2 separate regions of the Homo sapiens genome follow, and region 1 is linked to region 2. Evidence: promoter capture Hi-C in human tissues and cell types (Jung and others, 2019). All regions are on one chromosome and are shown on one strand. Each heading gives the region's core, a stretch centred on a gene start or on the middle of the fragment in contact. The rest is flanking DNA. Distances are from core to core; before and after follow the strand shown. Region 1 holds the start of LOC105371125 (a long non-coding RNA gene). Region 2 holds the start of DNAH3 (dynein axonemal heavy chain 3).

The links. The method cuts DNA at HindIII sites, captures the fragments that hold promoters and counts their contacts. A contact is called where the count stands out against the background at its distance.
Region 1: a contact is called between a fragment that was not itself captured here and the fragment with the promoter of DNAH3 in region 2, in 4 of the 25 tissues and cell types used here (aorta, liver, lymphoblastoid cells and 1 more).

The regions. Positions count from the first base shown.
Region 1 is chr16:21,290,009-21,296,860 of GRCh38, forward strand. It overlaps LOC105371125 (a long non-coding RNA gene), which reads left to right and starts at 462. Exons shown (of 3, transcript XR_950905.3): 1 at 462-494; 2 at 1,170-1,330; 3 at 3,247-3,951. It also overlaps a transcript of CRYM not described here. RefSeq lists a silencer at 6,060-6,354. The HindIII fragment of the contact is 3,703 bases long and covers 1-3,483 here.
Region 2 is chr16:21,146,730-21,154,368 of GRCh38, forward strand. DNAH3 (dynein axonemal heavy chain 3) reads right to left here and starts at 4,117. Exons shown (of 62, transcript NM_001347886.2): 1 at 4,022-4,117; 2 at 3,561-3,805. The coding sequence starts at 3,590. RefSeq lists an enhancer at 6,279-6,573. The HindIII fragment of the contact is 16,051 bases long and covers 1-7,639 here.

The DNA of each region.
Region 1 (6,852 bases), core at 382-2,881, 140 kb after region 2:
ACCAATCAGCACTCTGTAAAATGGACCAATCAGCACTCTGTAAAATGGACCAATCAGTGTTCTGTAAAATGGACCAATCAGCAGGATGTGGGTGGGGCCAAATAAGGGAATAAAAGCTGGCCACCAGAGCCAGCAGTGGCAATGTCGGATCCCCTTCCATGCTGTGGGAACTTTTTTCTTTTGCTGTTCACAATAAGTCTTGCTGCTGCTCACTGTTTGGGTCCACACTACCTTTGTGAACTGTAACACTAACCACGAAGGTTGTAGGCTTCATTCCTTAAGTCAGTGAGACCACGAACCCACCGGGAGGGACAAACAACCTGGATGTGCCACCTTTAAGAGCTGTAACACTCACTACAAAGGTCTGCAGCTTCTCTCCTGAGGTCAGCAAGACCACAAACCCACTGGAAGGAAGAAACTCGGGACACATCTGAACATCTGAAGGAACAACTCTGGACACACCATCTTTAAGAATTGTAACACTCACCGCAAGGGTCCGTGGCTTCTTTCTTGAAGTCAGCGAGACCAAGAACCCACGGGAGGGAACCAATTCTGGCCACAAAAGCATCTTACAAATATGCTTTTTGCTCAGACTTATAATTTCATCTTTTTTTCCAGTAATTTGAACTCAGTCTTGAAGTCTTACAGTGACAGTTCAGAGCCTTACCTCTTAAACATGTTTCTTATTTACTCATATATATTCATAAACTGTTATACATATTTAATTTAGTATTTAGAGGAATCTCAGCATCAAGTTTGTTTCTCTGAGGATGTATGTCCTTTCAACTGATGATATATTCCTTATCCTCTTTCCACTGTTGAGTCCTAGGCTACATTTCCTATCACATCTTTGCTTTTTCATTGGTTATATAAAATAAACGGTATGAGAAATAATCAGCATTGGTTTCTTGTTCGCATGAGATGACAGGAAGACAGATGATATGGACATCAGCTTTCCCAAAAGGATTTTCCAAAGCTGTAATTATCAACACAAACTATGTTTCAAGAAATCAGGGGTAGTATACTTTATGCTAAAAACGGAGGGTTTGTGAGAATAATGTTACAGCTTTTAATTTTCTCTGTTTAATTTTATCAACTTGGGAGACTTTTGTTATCCTGGGACAGTTCATTTCATATAAAGCATGCTAACATTATCTTTTTCATTGCAGATTGGAATAATACTTTTAAAAACTTTCTGCTTGATTCATTCCTGCTGGTACCCATTTATAACCTTGGGATGAGCATCAGCAAATACTATGATATCCAAGAGGTGAATATGTTGTGTTCCTGTTGAAAAGTATTCCTAACTCCATAAATTACAGTACAGAAAGTGAGTATCTGAGGCTCTACAAATCTCATCAGAGCTACTGGTAGTCAATTACTTATTACATGTGAATAATTCTACCTACATTACTGTGAATCTTGACAATAACTCAAGTTATATGTTATCCTCATTTTGAAAAAACTAAACCTTACACAATGTAAAAACTTGCTCAACACCACAAAATTTGTACAAGATAGCACTAAGATTCAAAGCTTATGTGCATAATGCATTTTCTCTGTGGGAAAGAATCTCTGTGATTAGTATCTATATTGTATTATACATTAATCTCAATAGAGGGGAAAGCACTTGAAAAAATTTAACACCCTTTTATGATGAAACTTCTCAACATCTTTGCATGTGCTTATTTGCCACATGTGTATCATCTTTGGTGAAGTGACCGGTGAACTTTTCTTTCATTTATTGTTGAATTGGTCTTTTTTCTTACTATTGGGTTTTGAGAATTCTTTGTACGTTCTGAATATCAGCCCTTTGTGTAGTAAGCCATTTGCAAATATTTTGTCCCAGACTATGGCCTTTTATTTTTTTCAAAGCATCTTTTAAGAACCAAACGTTTTTAATTGTGGTGAAGTTAAATTTATCATTTTTTAGTGAATTGTGCTTTTAGTGCTATATCTAAAAAACTTTGCCCAATACAGAGTCACAAAAGCTTGATTGGATGTCTTCTTCTAGAAGTTTTACTTAAGAGAAATGAAAGCATATGAACATAGAAACACTTGTATGCAAACATTCATAAATAGCTTTAATTATAAAGGCCAAAAATTGAAAATAACCCAATGTCCATCAACATGTGAATGGGTAATCAAACTGTGAATTATTCATACAATGGAATACCCTCAGCAATAAAAATGAATGATCTACCAAAAAAGAGACTTTTCAGCAAAGGAGGACTAGAATGAAACATCTTCACTTTGAGTAAGGAAATCTAGAAATATCTATTGCTAATATCATTTTCAAGGCAATACCATTGTGGTAGCATGAAATACATAAAACATTTAGGGAAAATTTTAAAAAAGATGTGCAGTACCTGTACACTGAAGACTGAAAACATTGCTGAGAAAAATTAAAGATGACTTGAGATAATGGAGAAATATACCTTATTCATGGATCAGAAGACTCAATATTTTTAAATTGTCAATTGTCCCCAAATTGATTTATACGCTCAAAACAATCTCAATCAACATCCTAGAGGCTTTTTATTTTTGGTAGAAATTTAGCTGATTCTAAAATTTATATGGAAATTCAAAAGAACTTCATTATCCAAAAATATATATTTTCTTAATTGCAAGATTTTGTGACAACTCATTTTAAAACTTATTATAAAACTACAGTAATTAAGACAATGTGGTATTAACATAAGTAGAGACATAGATGACAGATGGATGGATGGATAGATAGATAGATAGAATAAGATACAGAGTTCAAAAATAGATTCACACATGTATGGCCAATTGATTTTGGATTCAAAAGAACTTTATTATCCCAAACTATACTTTTTTAATTGCAAGACTTTGCACCAACTTATTTGAAACCTTATTATAAAACTACGATAATTAAGACAGTGTGGTATTAGCATGAGTAGAGACAGAGAAGATAAATGCATGGATGGATGGATGGATGGATTGATGGATGAACGGATGGATGGATGAATGAATAGATGGATAGGTAAGTAGATAGAAGATAGATAGATAGATAGATAGATAGATAGAATAAGATACAGAGTCCAAAAATAGATTCATACATGTATAGTCAGTTGATTTCAGATGAGGTGCCAAAGTAATTCAAATGAGAAAGGATAGTCATTTCAATTAGTGGTCATGGCCCTAACCTGTAAAAGCTTGTGATTATTTGATACCTAGCAAACAGACAAATAAAATCCCTATAACCTCTTAACTCTATCCCAGTAGGAAGAAGGTTGTGAAAACTGTGCATTCTAAAAGACAGCGTAGATTGAAACACCCACTTTGGATGCACCAAGGGAAAAGCAAATCTGAGTGCTACAGGAGACAGTGAACAAGGGAATCTCTCATAGAGAGCAGGTGAGGATTCTGCAGAAAAGAGAATACGGAACACAGTGGCAACAGCGGTAGATCCATCATGAGCTGGGAAATACTGAAAAAAATCTCTGAGAACTAGACCTAGTCAATCAAAATCCTGGTTATAGGGGGAAATAAATAAAGAGGCTTGAAAATGTGCAAAGCTATAAATGTTAATCTTGAGAGATATTAATTTGGAGGTTAGAGAGAAGCAACTTAGAAAATAGAAGTGCCCTTTAGAATTAGGGTAGCAAAGAGAAATAAGGACATGTCCAGCATAATTTAACTTCATACAGATATTAGCAAGAATCACAGAATTGAGTCGCTTCATTCCCTTAGAAAAAGTTCTATTTGTTAAAGAAACTGCACTTCACTGTATTAATAGAAGAAGATGAATATGTACTAAGAAGCTTACAAACTAATCAAAATATTACCATTCATCCATTAAATCACTTGTTATTGTTGGTTCAGATAATCAATTTAATATGCCATAAGAAGGAAACAGAAGAATATCAAAATACTTCAATTGATGAAAATTCCTGTCCCTCACCTGCCAAAGGAAACTAACCACAAAGCAGAGGGAAATAGTAACTAAGTATCAATATACGGGAAACTGGAGAACAATTTGTCAGCAAAAAGGTAGAATACGCATAACTTCTCATTACCATCTCACAAAAGCTTCAAAAATTAGCAGAAACTGTCTGAACCAATTTTGTCAGGACTATGGAAAACAATCAAAAGTTTATAGCAACCAAATGAATACTGAACCAATAAAAAAGTCACTTCAAAACAGTGGATAGTTTTGTGATGATTTTACACGCCCTTGCCCCTCTCCCTCCCTGGCACAGGAGTGGTCGTGGTCTTGAAGCAGGAGTAGTCTGCAGTCCCAGTTTTGGACCGTTTTCCCTGGCTCTGGAGGGTGCGGAGCAGAATTTATTCGCAAATTATTATTATTTTTTTAAATTTACTTTAAGTTCCGGGATACATGTGCAGAATGTGCAGGTTTATTACATAGGTATACATGTGCCATGGTGGTTTGCTGCACCTATCAACCTATCATCTAGGTTTTAAGCCCCATGTGCATTAGGTATTTGTCCTAATGCTCTCCCTCTCCTTCCCCGCCACCCCCTGACAGGTCTCAGTGTCTGATGTTCCCCTCCCTGTGCCCATGTGTTCTCACTGTTCAACTCCCACTTATGAGTGAGAACATGCAGTGTTCGGTTTTCTGTTCCTGTGTTAGTTTGCTGAGAATGTTGGTTTTCAGCTTCATCCATGTCCCTGCAAAGGACATGATCTCATTCCTTTTTTTTTTTTTTTCTTTTTTTTTTGAGACAGTCTTGCTCTGTTGCCCATGCTGGAGTACAGTGGCGCGATCTCGACTCACTGCAACCTCCACCTCCTGGGTTCACACCATTCTTCTGCCTCAGCCTCCCAAGTAGCTGGGACTACAGGCACACACCACCACGCCCAGCTAATTTTTTTGTATTTTTAGTAGAGACAGGGTTTCACCATGTTGGCCAGGATGGTCTCGATCTCCTGACCTCGCAATCCACCCACCTCAGCCTCCCAAAGTGCTGAGATTATAGGCGTGAACCACCACACCGTGCTGATTTCATTCTTTTTATGGCTGCATAGTATTCCATGGTATATATGCACCACATTTTCTTTATCCAGTCTATCACTGATGGACATTTGGGTTGGTTCCACGTCTTTGCTATTGCAAATAGTGCTGCGATAAACATACATGTGCATGTGTCTTTACAGTAGAATGATGTGTATTCCTTTGGGTGTATGCCCAGTAATGAGATAGCAGGGTCAAATGGCATTTCTGGTTCTAGATCCTTGAGGAATCACCACACTGTCTTCCACAGTGGTTGAACGAATTTAAATTCTCACCAACAGCGTAAAAGTGTTTTTTCCTATTTCTCCACAGCCTTGCCAGCATCTGTGGTTTCTTGACTTTTTAATAATCTCCATTCTGACTGGCATGAAATGGTATCTCATTATGGTTTTGATTTGCATTTCTCTAATGATCAGTGATGTTGAGCTTTTTTTTATGTGTTTGTTGGCTTCATAAATGTCTTCTTTTTAGAAGTGTCTGTCATATCCCTTGCTCACTTTTTGATGGGGTTTTGGAATAGGTAGTTCTTTTTATGTCAGTTTTGTATGTTGTGCTTTTCAAGGAATTCGTCCATTTCACTTAAATTGTTAACTATAGTAATACAATGGTATAAAGTTATTTGTAATATCAAAAAAGAAAATTAGGCCAGATGTGGTGGTTCACGTCTATAATCTCAGCACTTTGGGAGGCCGAGGTGGGCAGATCACCTGAGGTCAGGAGTTTGAGACCAGCCTGGCCAACATGGTGAAACTCTGTCTTTACTAAAAATACAAAATTAGCTGGGTGTGGTGGCACATGCCTATAGTCCCAGCTACTTGAGAGGCTGAGGGAGGAGAATCGCTTGAACCCAGGAGATGGAGGCTGCAGTGAGCCGAGATCATGCCACTGCACTTCAGCCTGGGCAAGACAGATCAAGACTCCGTCTAAAAAAAAAAAAAGAAAGTTATTTTGTTGCACCCCATCTCCTATATATGAAACTATTTCCAAAACCATAAGAAAATTCATCTCACTAAAACATGAACAAATTAAAAGATTATAATTGAACTCCATAGAAAAATATCATAAGTAAAAGACCATTTTCCACCATGTCCAGCTAATTTTTGTATTTTTAGTAGAGACAGGGTTTCACCATATTGGTCAGGCTGGTCTCCAACTCTTGACCTCGAGTGATCCACCCGCCTTGGCCTCCCAAAGTGTTGGGATTAAACGTGTGAGTCACTGCACCCAGCTGGAGTTTTTTAAGTAAACATTTAAGAAACACTTACTTTTCAAGAGCTAATAGTGTGGAAAGTGTAAGGGAAATGGAGATTGGAAAAGAGAAAAATAGAAAAACAATCAAATGGAAATATAGATGAGAACTTGTCAGGGAGAAATAAGGCAATATCAATTCAAAACAATTATGAAAGCAGTCCACAAAGATAAAAAGCAAAACCACAGAACAAATACTAAAACCTATCATTCAAGAAAATTTCCTGAAATAAAAGAACACAAATCTACTCATTGAAAGGGCAACCAGTATACCTGAAAAAACTGACCCCTAATCACTAACACCAAGGAATATTCTAATAAACTACTTCACTTTAATAATAAAATGGGGCAGGGACTTTTATATATGTAGACAAAAAAGACAAGCATTTTATAATAGAAAAAGTCAGATCGAGTGCAGATTTTGTAACAAGAAGGTCTTATGCCAGGAGAGCAAGTCAGATGTTTAAGATACTCACTGAGGCCGGGGGCTCACGCCTGTAATCCCAGCACTTTGGGAGGCTGAGGCGGGCGGATCATGAGGTCAGGAGATCGAGACCATCCTGGCTAACACGGTGAAACCCCGTCTCTACTAAAAATACAAAAAT
Region 2 (7,639 bases), core at 2,867-5,366:
CCCAACCCTTCCACTCCTGTTTCTTTTTTCTTTCTTTCTTTTTTTTTTTGAGATGGAGTCTTGCTCTGTCACCCAGGCTGGAGTGCAGTGGCTCTATCTCAGCTCAATGCAACCTCTGCCTCCGGGGGTCAAGTGATTCTCCTCCCTCAGCCTCCCAAGTAGCTGGGATTACAGGTGACTGCCACCATGCCCAGCTAATTTTATATTTTTAGTAGAGACGGGGTTTCATCATGTTGGCCAGGCTGGTCTTGAACTCCTGGCCTCAAGTGATCTGCCCTCCTCGGCCTCCCAAAGTTCTGGGATTACAGGCATGAGCCACCACGCCCGGCCCCTGCTTCATTTTTTAATCATTCAGTGTCTCCTCCTCGGATTCCCTTCTATGAGCAAATTTGAATATTTTTCCCCCGTGGAAGAGCCCAAATTCTGAGGACATCCCCAGTACCCTACCCTCAGGTATGATTAAAGGAGGTGACTTTAAAAACATTGACTCTTGCATTTTTTTTTTTTTGAGATAGTCTCTCACTCTGTCACCCAGGCTAGAGTGCAATGGTACGATCTTAGCTCACTGCAACTGCTGCTTCCCAGGTTCAAGCAATCCTCCTGCCTCAGCCTCCCAAGAAGCTGGATGGGTGCCCACCACCATGCCTGGCTAATTTTCATATTTTTAGTAGAGACGGGGTTTCACCACATTGGTCAGGCTGGTCTTGAACTCCTGACCTCAGGTGATCCACCTGCTTCGACCTTCCAAAGTGCTCGGATTACAGGCATAAGCCACTCCACCAGGTGGACTCTTGCATTTTCACATGTGCAAAATTCCAAAGAGAAATTCACTCAGGCAGTGGCACTGAATTTTCTGTGTATTTAACACACACATAAGCAACTCTTTATGATTCCTGCGAAAAGAAAAAGTGTTATTTCAACAATGTGGGTGTTGAGTACTCCATTCCAACCAGTGAGTGCATACTGTGGAGTGAGCCTCAGGTAAGGGTCAACTTGTGGCTCCCACAATCACTCTCAGATTCCAAGTGACCCTCCACCTCTCCTGAGCAGAGAAGAAAGTGACTACATTATTGAATGAAATCACATGTGTTTTTGTCTTAAGACTTAGCCCCTATATGCAAAACAACCACTTCACCTGGGACTAGTGATGGAGAAACTGCAACTTGTTCCAACACTAGAAGAAAAGCTGTTGGCCTGGACTTATTGAGAGGTGCTGCCGTTCAGCACTTTAAAGGTGGTTTGAGGGATTTTCAAGGGCAATTTTGACTCTCTGTGATTTTCACCTTAGGCATTGACTTTGGACTTAACTCCTATATAAGATGAGCCAACATCGTATCAGTGTGATTTATTTGGGTGTGCAAATTATGACATGCAAGATCACTGATGAGGGTGGGATGGGGCAGGGGGCATATGACTATTAGCTGTCCCTCTGCCCCCAACCCCTTAAAGATGACTCAAATTAACCATCATTATCTCTCCCGGAGCACCTACCTCATTAAATAACAACAGAAAAACAACAACCGCAGCAATACTATCTACCATTATTCCAAACGATTATGTGCCAGGTACTGTACAACCTCATGAGATTTTTTTCATACCCGCATTCTAGCTGAAGAAAATGAGGGTGAGAAGATAGGTAACACATCCTAGCCATGTAATTGGCCGGCTTGACTTCTAAGTCAGTGACTTATTTATTATTATTATTATTATTTATTTTTTTTTTTTGAGTCCAAGTTTTCGCTCTGTCGCCCAGGCTGGAGTGCAGTGACACAATCTTGGCTCACTACAACTGCAACCTCCACCCCCTAGGTTCGAGCGATTCTCCTGCCTCAGCTTCCTTACTGCATCATGCAAACTGACAGGGACGCTGTTCTCGGGATAATGAAGAAAGCAAACCGTGAGCATTTTGCAGAACACAATGGAAAGAGGGAGAACCTCTGTAGAAACAAATTAAACTAGGCTATGTCATAGGCTTGGACTAAAACAAATACACAAACAGTCATAAGTACGCTGATAGCAGAAAGCATCCCAGTCTGTCGATCAGGAACACATGGGGCACACACAACATGAGCAGATCTAGGCATCAATTGCAGAATGGGGCTAAAAGAGTTTTCCTGGCAATAAATGGCTAAGAATCCTCTGTGGCACCTTCAAGAGATCGAGATTCTCATAAGAACTAGCTGGTTGTGCAAAATTGTTTGTTAAAAATATGAATGCTTGGCCAGCCGTGGTAGCTAATGTCTATAATCCCAGCACTTTGGGAGGCCGAGGCGGGTGGATCACTTGAGGCCAGGAGTTCGAGACCAGCCTGGCCAACATGGAGAAATCCCGTCTCTACTAAAAATACAAAAATTAGCCAGGCGGTGGCGCACACCTGTAGTTCCAGCTACTCAGGAGACTGAGGCAGGAGAATCGCTTGAACCCAGAAAGCAGACGCTTCAGTGAGTGAAGATCACGCCACTGCACTCCAGCCTGGATAACAGAGACAAACTGTCTCAAAAAAAAAAAAAGAAAGAAAGAAAAAGAAAGAAAGAAATTAATGCTTAAATCTTCTCTTTGGTAAATTTCAAGGAGCTTTCACTTCAGAGCATATTGGCTTAGTTATTATCTACAAATCCACTTTAGTTTTACAAAGTTTCTATTTAAAATGCTCCTCTGGGCACTTCGCTGTATGGCAACCTGGTGATTCAACACAGATACAACAGAAATTCTGGAACTTAGATTGGGTAGAACTGTCACTTTGGGCAGCTTATTGCTGATTACACATGTTGTATGTATGTTCTTCATGGAGGCCATTCCCAAATGCTCGTCTGAGGACGTGCTACACCAGAATCACTCTGGTCTTAGATAAAAATATAGATTCCAGGGCCCCACTCCAAATCTTCTGGATCGGAATCTAGGAGTGGGGGACCAAGACTCTATGTTTTTAAGATGCTCCCCAGAATATTCTAATGTTCAGCCACAGTCAAAAACTGATGGTTGGAATATATGGTCTAATGGGCTTGGAAGGGAAGGAAAGGGAAGAACGGGTGTCTATTCCCGGATTTTTCACAGCAAAACTTGAAGATTTCCAAAAGTCTAATTCAGCAAAAATGATATTTCAAAGCAGACAACAAAAAAATGTGATGAATACACTTGTTCAGTCAAGGGCATCTAACATGCCAATTGGCCCTCTTCCCACATATTCCCAACACATTAAAAATACAGGTAAATCGGCCAGACACGGTGGCTCACACCTGTAATCCCAGCACTTTGGGAGGCTGAGGCAGGCGGATCTCCTGAGATCGGGAGTTCAAGACCAGCCTGACCAACATGGATAAACCCTGTCTCCACTAAAAATACAAAATTAGCCAGGTGTGGTGGCACATGCCTGTAATCCCAGCTACTCAGGAGGCTGAGGCAGGAGAATCACTTGAACCCAGGAGGCGGAGGTTGCAGTGAGCCGAGATCACACCATTGCACTCCAGCCTGGGCAACAAAGAGCAAAACTCTGTCTCAAAATAAAAAATAAAAAAAAAAAATACAGGTAAAACAAGAAACGTCTTAAAATTCACACCTACCTTCTGAGATGAGCAATCCATGTCACCCATGGTGTCCACTCTAATTGTAGCTATTTTTTTAAAATGAATAAAGAGCTTTCAGCTTCTCCAGGGATGTGCCTCTCCTATCCAGTTGGTCTGAAATTCACACTTCCTTATAGCATAATGGGGATGACACCAACAATGGAACTTTCCAGATGTTCTGAAAGCTCTGTTCATGAGGTTGCCTCTCTGAGGTCATAGACTTTGGCCCGCTGAGGAGTTCCCTGGTAAAAAAGGAGAGAAAGGGAAGCTAGAGATAAGGGGACAGCACTGGGTTTCTGCTGCGCTTTTGGCTCTGGTTCCTAGTCCCCCAGCGGTGGCCACGCTTCCTTTCCCTTGAGTGCTTCTCTCTTGGAAATTTTCCAGAAACACACTGAGTTCACTGCAGAGGAAAGACTGAAGCAGAGTTACACATTAATACAGAGAAGAGGGAGACTCACCCCTCCAAACAACATCCTGGCAGCCCGAACTGTTCTCCCTCCTCCTCCCTGGACTCTTAACACTGGCAGTGCTTGTATGCAGGCGCTGGGCACAGTAACCATGTCTCAGCGTCTGTTGCTAAGGGAAGGAGGGGCCTCTGCGGTGCCTACATACAAGACTGGGCATGACCTAGCTCTGTGAGCTGGTGTCTCCCTTTGCTGGAGGCCCAGGTGGGCAGCAGGAAGTGTTGGTGACAGAAGGGAACATGGGAAGGTGTTTAGCAATGTTCCAGGAATAACAGAGGCAACAGCAATAAAAGACCTTTGGAGACGTCGAAAAGCACAGAGTATGGTGGTTAAGTTCTTGGGATCTACAATTGGACAGGTCATACTTCAGATCCTACTCTTCTCATTAATTAGCTGTGTGGCTTGGCAAGTTGTTTAATCTCTCCAAGTGTCCTTTCCGTCTGTAAAATGGCAATAATGTGAGTCCCTACTTCATAGGGTTGCTTTGAAGGGTTAACGGGATAACGTGTACAGAGCGATTTGCATATAGTAGAAGGATAACTGATATTTTCCCAGTTTTTCCCCGTTTTTTTTTTTTTTTTTGAGACAGAGTCTTGCTCTGTTGCCCAGGCTGCAGTGCAGTGGCGTGATCTCAGCTCACTGCAAGCTCTGCCTCCCGGGTTCACACCATTCTCCTGCCTCAGCCTCCCACCAGTGCGCCCAGCTAATTTTTTGTATTTTTAGTAGAGACGGGGTTTCACCGTGTTAGCCAGGATGGTCTCAATCTCCTGACCTCGTGATCCGCCCACCTCGGCCTCCCAAAGTGTGGGATTACAGGTGTGAGCCACTGCGCCCAGCCCAGTTTTTCCCCATTTTAACACTAAGTCCTGCATCCTGGGAGCAATCTCAGTCCTGGGCAAACTGGGATAGTTTGATCACCCAACACAGTCAATGCTCTATAAATGTTGTGGCTAACATCAATATTACGATAAACACAGAAATACATGTGCACATACTCAAAAGTAACAATATTAGCTGCCGCCCGAATATTAAAAGCACATGTTCCATGGTCACTGTGAAGTTCTCTCAAAACCAAGTTAGACTTAATGAGTTTTTTGGGGGTGCCATGCTTGCATATCTTTTTTTTTCATTCAATTTCCCCCCAAACACCACGATATTCCCATTTTAAGGATAAGGAATCAAAACTGAGAGATATGGGCCAGGTATGGTGGTTCATGCCTGTAATCCCAGCACTCTGAAAGGCTGAGGTGGATGGATCACTTGAGGTCAGGAGTTTGAGACCAGCTTGGCCAACATAGTGAAACCCCATCTCTACTAAAAATACAAAATTAGCCGGGCATGGTGGTAGTCGCCTGTAATCCCAGCTACTTGGGGGGCTGAGGCAGGAGAATCGCTTGAACCTGGGAGGGAGGTTGCAGTGAGCACAGATCATGCCACTGCACCCCAGCCTGGGCAACAAGAGCGAAACTCCATCTCAAAAAAAAAGAAAAACAAACAAAAAAACTGAGAGATACATAACTTTCCTAAGTCGACTTGACTCATAAGTAGCACTGATACAATTGGAACCTGTCCTGATGACCCCGAGTCCACTGCTCTTTCCATAACCTACCTGTCCAGAACACAAACATTCCCGAGTTCCTATGAAAAGCATTGCATAGTGAGAGGTGACAGCGTGCTGGCAGTCCTCACAGCCCTCGCTCGCTCTCGGCGCCTCCTCTGCCTGGGCTCCCACTTTGGCGGCACTTGAGGAGCCCTTCAGCCCACCGCTGCACTGTGAGAGCTCCTTTCTGGGCTGGGCAAGGCCGAAGCCGGCTCCCTCAGCTTGCAGGCAGGTGTGGAGGGAGAGGCGCGAGCGGGAACCCGGGCTGCGCACGGCGCTTGCGGGCCAGCTGGAGTTCCGGGTGGGCGTGGGCTTGGCGGGCCCCGCACTGGGAGCAGCCAGCTGGCCCTGCCGGCCCCGGGCAATGAGGGGCTTAGCACCCCGGCCAGCGGCTGCGGAGGGTGTACTGGGTCCCCCAGCAGTGCTAGCCCACCGGCGCTGCGCTCCATTTCTCACCGGGCCTTAGCTGCCTTCCCGCGGGGCAGGGCTCGGGACTTGCAGCCCGCCATGCCTGAGCCTCCCACCCCCTCCGTGGGCTCCTGTGCTGCCCGAGCCTCCCCGACGAGCGCCACCCCCTGCTCCACGGCGCCCAGTCCCACCGACCACCCAAGGGCTGAGGAGTGCGGGCCCACGGCGCGGGACTGGCAGGCAGCTCCACCTGCAGCCCCGGTGCAGGAGCCACTGGGTGAAGCCAGCTGGGCTCCTGAGTCTGATGGGGACGTGGAGAACCTTTATGGCTAGCTCAGGGATTGTAAATACACCAATCAGCACCCTGAGTCTAACTCAGGGTTTGTGAATGCACCAATCGACACTCTGTATCTAGCTGCTCTGGTGGGACCTTGGAGAACCTTTATGTCTAGCTTGGGGATTGTAAATACACCAATCAGCACTCTGTATCTAGCTCAAGGTTTGTAAACACACCAATCAGCACCCTGTGTCTAGCTCAGGGTCTGTGAATGCACCAATCCACACTCTGTATCTAGCTATTCTGGTGGGGCCTTGGAGAACCTTTGTGTGGACACTCTGTGTCTAGCTAATCTGGTGGGGACTTGGAGAACCTTTGTGTCTAGCTCAGGGATTGTAAACGCACCAATCAGCACCCTGTCAAAACAGACCACTAGGCTCTACCAATCAGCAGGATGTGGGTGGGGCCAGATAAGAGCATAAAAGCAGGCTGCCCGGGCCAGCAGTGGCAAGCCGCTTGATCCCCTTCTACAACGTGGAAGGTTTGTTCTTTCACTGTTTGGGTTCATGCCGCCTTAATAGCTGTAACACTCACGGTGAAGGTCTGCAGCTTCACTCCTGCGCCAGCGAGACCAGAAACCCACCAGAAGGAAGAAACTCCGAACACATCCGAGCATCAGAAGGAACAAACTCCAGACGCGCTACCTTAAGAGCTGTAACACTCACCGCGAGGGCCCACGGCTTCATTCTTGAAGTCAGTGAGACCAAGAACCTACGAATTCCAGACACAATAGAACCAAGTACTTCCATTTTCCCCCTTTTTCTACTCCTTTTCCTCAAAGTTGGGCTTTCCATCCTTTCAAAATAACCCTGAGCTTTTCCATCTCTTATATTATGCTCTTTATCACAAAGTATACATACGGTTTCAAATAGCATTTGGAATAATTGAGACAGTGGGAGAGCTGGAGACTCTGGTTTAGACGGAAATGGGAAGATTATCAGGTCTCCTATACTGGGTGTGAAACCTCATGTCCCACCAAAAACAGCAACTGTAATCCAATGAAGTGAAAAATTAGAATGGGGCCAGGCGCGGTGGCCCATGCCTATAATCCCAGCAGCTGGGGAGGCCAAGGCGAGTGGATCGCCTGAGGTCAGGGGTTCAAGACCAACCTGGCCAACATGGTGAAACCCCGTCTCTACTAAAAATACAAAAAATTAGCCGGGCGTGGTGGCAGGCACCAGTAATCCCAGCTTCTTGGGTTGCTGAGGCAGGAGAATTGCATGAACACAGGAGGTGGAGGTTGCAGTAAGCTGAGATCACACCATTG